Linked DNA regions of Homo sapiens: region 1 is linked to region 2. Evidence: promoter capture Hi-C in 16 types of primary human blood cells and fetal thymus (Javierre and others, 2016). All regions are on one chromosome and are shown on one strand. Each heading gives the region's core, a stretch centred on a gene start or on the middle of the fragment in contact. The rest is flanking DNA. Distances are from core to core; before and after follow the strand shown. Region 1 overlaps GAPVD1 (GTPase activating protein and VPS9 domains 1). Region 2 holds the start of PPP6C (protein phosphatase 6 catalytic subunit).

Region 1 (3,412 bases), core at 661-3,160, 75 kb before region 2:
CAGGCGGATCACAGGAGTTCAAGACCAGGCTTGCCAACATGGTGAAACCCCATCTCCACTAAAAATACAAAAAATTAGCCAGGTGTGGTGGCACGTGCCCATAGTACCAGTTACTCAGGAGGCTGAGGCAGGAGAATCTCTTGAACCCAGGAGGGGGAAGTTGCAGTGACTTGAGATGGCGCCACTGCACTCCAGCCTGGACCACAGAGCAAGACTCTGTCTCAAAAAACAAACAAAAAGAAAAAAACAAAACGAACAGCAGAAAATAGGGAAAGATACAAATAATAATTTAGCACGTATATTCTGCCTCCCAGAATTAGCTGTTGTCACAGTAGTGTCTAGTCTCAAAAAAAAAGTATAGATATCCTCAAAAGAAATTATAGATAACGGGCTGCGCGCGGTGGCTCACGCCTGTAATCCCAGCACTTTGGGAGGCCGAGGCAGGTGGATCACAAGGTCAGGAGATCAAGACCATCCTGGATAACATGGTGAAACCCCGTCTCTACTGAAAATACAAAAAATTAGCTGGGCATGGTGGCGGGCGCCTGTAGTCCCAGCTACTTGGGAGGCTGAGGCAGGAGAATGGCGTGAACTCGGGAGGCAGAGCTTGCAGTGAGCCAAGATCACGCCACTGCACTCCAGCCTGGGCGACAGAGCGAGACTCCGTCTAAAAAAAAAAAAATAAAATAAAATAAAATAAAATAAAAATTAGCCGGGCATAGTGGTGCATGCCTATAATCCCAGCTGCTCGGGAAGCTGAGGCAGGAGAAATGCTGGAACCCGGGAGACGGAGATTGCAGTGAGCCGAGATCGCGCATTTGCACTCCAGCCTGGGCAACAAGAGCAAAACTCCACCTCAAAAAAAAAAAAAAAATTATAGATATCATCCCCTTTGCCACTACCTCCCATTCATAATCCCTTATAGACGTGAAATTATAGAGTACGCCTATCTTCAACTTTACTAAGGGCTGCAAATACTGTCTTCAAAAGCAGCTATACCAGTTTACACTCAACCAACAGTTTTTTTTTCCTCCTCCTAACAGTAACCGGTAGCAGTTTCTTTTTTTTTTTTTTTTTATAAATTTTTTCTTTTTTAATAGAGACAGGGGTCTCACTTTGAGGCCCAGGCTGGTCTTGAACTCCCGGGTTCAAGGACTCAAGTGGCCCTCAAACTCCAAAAGTGCTAAAATTATAGGCATGAGCTACCACGCCTGGCCAGTAGTTTCAAAATTACCATTTTTGCCACATCTTCACCAACATTTGATATCGTCAGACATGAAATTTTTTTTTTGGCCGGGCGCGGTGGCTCACACTTGTAATCCCAGCACTATGGGAGGCCGAGGTGGGCAGATCACGAGGTCAGGAGTTCAAGACCAGCCTGGCCAATATGGTGAAACCCCGTCTCTACAAAAAAATACAAAAATTAGCCAGCCATCGTGGCACCCGCCTGTAGTCCCAGCCCAGGAGGGAGACTGAGGCAGGAGAATCGCTGGAACCCGGGAGGCAGAGGTTTCAGTGAGCCAAGATTACACCACTGCACTCCAGCCTGGGAGACAAGTAAGACTCCCTCTCAGAAAGAAGAACAGAAAAAGAAACAATGCCAGGTGTGGTGGTGCCGACCTATAGTCCTAGCTACTTGGTAAGGCTGAGGCAGGAGGATCACTCAAGTCCAGGAGTTCAAGTCCAGCCTGGGCAATGCAGCAAGACCTTGTTTCAAAAAAAAAGAAGGAAGAAGAAAGAAGGAAGAAGAATGAAGAGAAATAAAACAACCTAGGATCACACAGTAAAAGGTAAAAGAACCTCAGCAAAACAAGAACTTCACTTACAGACTTTCCCTTTTATTACCTCATACAAAATGATGAATAATCAAACCTATATGGCAGCATGTACTAAGAATGATTAGTCCCCATATGAAACCAAATGCTCACAAAAGCACAACATAGTGCTGGGAAATAATTTTTTGTCTTTTAAAAAATGTAAGATGGCCAGGCGCGGTGGCTCACGCCAATAATCCTAGCACTCTGGGGGGCCAAGGCGGGCAGATCACTTAAGGTCAGGAGGTTCGAGGCCAGCCTGACCAACATGGTGAAACCCCGTTTCTACTAAAAATACAAAAATTAGCCAGGCATGGTGGCAGCACCTGTAGTCCCAGCTACCTGGGAGGCTGAGGCAGGAGAATGGCATGAACCCGGTAGGCAGAGCTTGCAGTGAGCTGAGATCGCGCCACTGCACTCCAGCCTGGGCGACAGCCTGAGACTCCATCTCAGAAAAAAAAAAAAAAAATCCACCTCCATGATTTAAAGAAAACCAGCAAACAGTAAAATTTCTTTTCTCAGGCTTACATTAGAGCTTACAGAGCTGCAATCCCTTGGAAGTGGGGAGGTGCCTTAATACAAAAATTTAAAGGCCAACATATTCACTTTTCTTTCTTCTTCCGATTATTTTGTTCATTCCCCATTACCCTGAATGAAATATCTATGGTCTATTCTTTCAAAATGACTACTCTGGGCAGGACGCGGTGGCTCACATCAGTAATCCCAGCACTTTGGGAGTCCGAGGCAGGCAGATCACCTGAGGTCAGGACTTTGAGACCAGCCTGACCAACATGGTGAAACCTTGCCTCTACTAAAAATATAAAAATTATCCAGGCGTGGTGGCTGGTGTCTGTAGTCCCAGCTACTCAGGAAGCTGAGGCACAAGAATCGCTTGAACCCAGGAAGCTGAGGTCGCAGTGAGCGGAGATCATGCCACTGCACTCCAGCCTAGGCAACAGAGCCAGACTCCGTCTCAAAACAAAACAAAACAAAAGACTACCCTGATCCCATCCAAATTTTTTATCTCCCTGATTATGAAATTCTCTTTCGTCTACACTGTCATCCTGTCTGCCTTCAATGATTCAAATGTTCTTCTAAAGAACCAGATTGCCATTTATGAACTCCTTTTTAAGGAGGGAGTCATGGTGGCCAAGAAGGATGTCCACATGCCTAAGCACCCAGAGCTGGCAGACAAGAACGTGCCCAACCTTCATGTCATGAAGGCCATGCAGTCTCTCAAGTCTCAAGGCTACATGAAGGAACAGTTTGCCTGGAGACATTTCTACTGGTACCTTACCAATGAGGGTATCCAGTATCTCCGGGATTACCTTCATCTGCCCCCCGGAGACTGTACCTGCTACCCTACGCCATAGCTGTCCAGAGACCGGCAGGCCTCAGCCTAAAGGTCTGGAGGGTGAGTGACCTGCGAGACTCACAAGAGGGGAAGCTGACAGACATACCTACAGATGGAGTGCTGACAGACATACCTACAGATGGAGTGCTGTGCCACTTAGTGCCGACAAGAAAGCTGAGGCTGGGGCTGGGTCAGCAGCCAAATTCCAGTTGAGACGGATTTGGTCGTGGACGTGGTCAGCCAC
Region 2 (3,307 bases), core at 200-2,699:
TCTGCCTGCCTTGGCCTCCCAAAGTGCTGAGATTACAGGCATTAGCCACCGCGGCCTGGCCAATAGGCACTATGTAACTATTAGTTTAATGAATGAAGAAATGAATGCTTGTGGGCATCATTCATTCTGCAACAAACTTCTAAAAATTAATTTTACTTTGAAACAATTTCATACTTTCAGAGGAGTTACAAGAATAATACAAAGAAGTTCACCCAGATATCTCATTCAGGGTTAGCCAATTGTCCACAAAATATACTTTAGAGAGCAAGAGGATTAATTCCAGGGTCTCTTGAGCAACAAATATTTATTGAGCGCCTGCTACTATTGGATTACATAACAGTCTCTTAACTGGTCTCTTAGCTATAGGCATTGCACCCCCACCCCTAGTCCCATACAGCAGCTCCTTTTACTAATTTATTTTTGAGGAGGATCTCGCTCTGTCGCCCAAGCTGGAGTGCAGTGCCGCGATCTCAGCTCACTGCAACCTCCGCCTCCCAACTCAAGCGGTTCTCCTGCCTCAGCCTCCAGAGTAGCTGGGACCACAAGCACGCACTACCGCGCCAGGCTAATTTTGGTACTTTTTGTAGCTACAGATAGAATAGAGATCTTTGTCTATTTTGTTCACGAAGTACTGCAAGCGCCTTGAGCTGTACCTGGCACATCTTTGTTGCTCAGCAAAGAGTGGTTGGATAAACGAACGCTGAAGGTATGCTAGTACCAGGTACTGTTCTCGGTGCTGGAGTTACAGCAAAAAACTCCCTGCCCTCGTGGGATTCTCACTGGAAGCATGCTTAAGCTTAAGCCATTTTTCAATCTTGACCCCACCATTTTGTTCCCTGTGAGATTTGGGGTGAACTGCAGTTTCCTAGCCTCACTTTCCTATCAATCGTTACGAAGATTAAAAGGAAAAATATCATTTGTATCGCATTTAGCATCAGAAATGCTTTAATAATATTCGTTTCCCTTCCTTTCAGGCTGGAAGACTGGGGCCTGACATCTCTGCCACAGGCTTAGGCGAGGTTTTCACAGGGACTTGGAAAGGTGCAAACGGTTACTACGGCCAGGCTTACCCAATTGTTAAGTGAAGATATTCTGGAGAGTGCTTAAAAGGGTTGGAAAAACAAACCAGTGAGTGGCTAGGACCACCTACTCCGCTGTTTTGCCTCGGAAAAGCCTCGCCGGCTGCCGGGAGGTGAAAGTCTGGAGGAACGGGAGGAAAAGAGAGGGGTGGCTGTCCACAACAGAAAACTACACATCCCAGCACCCCCGCGGCAGACGACTACGGGTCCCAGCAGGTTTCGCGGGGTGGACCGAAGCGGGCTCTCTTGGGGCCTGCAGTCGGGGTTCAGCCAGAGGGGGCGCCGGGCGTACCGACGTAGCGGGGAGAAACGGGTCGCGCTTTAACGGCGCTGCGCAGGCGCCACTCACGGGCCGGACGTGACGCAGGGAAAGTTCCGGCTTCGGCCTCCGCCGCTGCCGCCGCCGCTGCTACAGCCGCCGCCGCCGCTGTTGCCGCGGCTTGTTATTCTTAAAATGGCGCCGCTAGACCTGGACAAGTATGTGGAAATAGCGCGGCTGTGCAAGTACCTGCCAGAGAACGACCTGAAGGTGAGCCCTATTTGCGGGCTCGCCCCTTCCGGCTGTGGGGCGCCCGCCGGCCGGCCCTTCCTTTCTCCAGGACCCCCGCCGGGTATCCAGTCCAGTCGCGGTGGAGGGCCTCCCCCATTGCCAGTCGACCCGGTCCTACCCGGCGTCACGCCGAGGGTCTCGCGAGCCGAGTCGTCGAATGCTGTCCCGGTTGCCTCAGTGGGGATCCCGAGGGATGTCGCGGCCTCTGTCCCAGGGTCGCCCCTTCTGGCCTTCGGGCTGCCCCAGGACCCGCAGCTGTAACAGCTTTATTTAGAAGGCTCGGCTCCCCACCCCATCCCTGGGTCTCCCGCAGTCGGAGCCGAGCCCCCGCGGCAGTGCCCTCGGGATGGGGTCGCCTCCACCGGAGGTGACAGGAGCGCGGAGTGGCCGGCGTCTGACAGGAGATGCCACCGGCTACCGGAACGCGGCCTCAGTGTGTTTAGGTCTCTGAGGAAGGGGAAGGCGGTGGGCCCGAGTGGTTTGGTACTGGCGGGAGCGAACGTCAGGTCGTCCCTCTTCATTGCCACTCCTCCAAATTGCTTTTTAGGATCGTCGGTTTTGCTAATTCAGAGGTGAATCCCGTTTCTGAGTATGTTGTTGAGCTTACTGAAGTGGATAAAGTAGTTGGTTCTCAATAAATACAAATACTTTCTCCTTAACCCCTTCTTAACTCAGTATTTCATTTTCTTCGTTTTCTAAAGGAGGTGAGTTCCTTGTTACTCCTGAGTCCAAGTAAGAGTAAATGTATGTATGGGTAAAGGAATGACTTTGGTATACTGCTTTTCTTTTTTAAAACTTTTTAATTATTATTATTATTATTATTATTATTGTTTTTAACTGAGATAGAGTCTCACTCTGTCACCCAGGCTGGAGTGCAGCGGTGCGATCTTGGCTCACTGCAACCTCCACTTCCCGGGTTCAAGCGATTCTCCTGCCTCAGCCTCCCGACTAGGTGGAATTACAGGCGCCCGTCACGACGCCCGGCTGTTTTGTATTTTTAGTAGAGACGGGGTTTCGCCATGTTGGCCAGGCTGGTCTTGAACTCCTGACCTCAAGTGATCCGCCCGCTTCGGCCTACCAAAGTGCTGGTATTACAGGCGTGAGCCACCGCGCCGGCCTAGGTATACTGCTTCTTTGAAAAGTGTTTCTATGCATTTGCTGAAATCAGAGCTTAGGTTTCTAGCAGTGCTTATCAGCTCGTGCTAGTATTTAACCGACTCAGTGTATTCTTTTTTTTTGAGACGGAGTCTCGCTCTGTCGCCCAGGCCGGAGTGCGGTGGCACCATCTCGGCTCACTGCAACCTCCGCCTCCCGGGTTCACGCCATTCTCCTGCCTCAGTCTCCCGAGTAGCTGGGACTACAGGTGCCCGCCACCACGCCTGGCTAATTTTTTGTATTTTTAGTAGAGACGGGGTTTCACCGTGTTAGCCAGGATGGTCTCGATCTCCTGAACTCGTGATCCGCCCGCCTCGGCCTCCCAAAGTGCTGGGATTACAGGCGTAAGCCACCGTGCCCAGCCCCGACTCAGTGTATTCTTAAGGAAATATATTACTGTGGGTTTTGTTTTATTTCTTCTTTGTACAGTAAGTTGATACTTAACATCAGTCAACAAGTATGCATAATATTTGAGGCCACACGTGCTGTTGTGAATGTGACTGAATTGTACTTACCTGTTAAT

Evidence for each region. The method cuts DNA at HindIII sites, captures the fragments that hold promoters and counts their contacts. A CHiCAGO score of 5 or more calls a contact.
Region 1: a contact is called between a fragment that was not itself captured here and the fragment with the promoter of PPP6C in region 2, in 5 of 17 cell types (naive CD4 T cells, fetal thymus, naive CD8 T cells and 2 more). The highest score is 6.2, in naive CD4 T cells.

Annotation. Positions count from the first base shown.
Region 1 is chr9:125,263,590-125,267,001 of GRCh38, reverse strand. The region is part of intron 1 of GAPVD1 (GTPase activating protein and VPS9 domains 1); the gene reads right to left. It also overlaps the pseudogene RPS10P17. Among named protein-coding and RNA genes, the nearest start is that of GAPVD1, 3.5 kb to the right of the region's middle. The HindIII fragment of the contact is 5,449 bases long and covers 1-3,412 here.
Region 2 is chr9:125,187,945-125,191,251 of GRCh38, reverse strand. PPP6C (protein phosphatase 6 catalytic subunit) reads left to right here and starts at 1,449. Exons shown (of 7, transcript NM_002721.5): 1 at 1,449-1,608. The coding sequence starts at 1,534. RefSeq lists enhancers at 1,172-1,251, 554-1,340, 1,341-2,127. The HindIII fragment of the contact is 2,825 bases long and covers 799-3,307 here.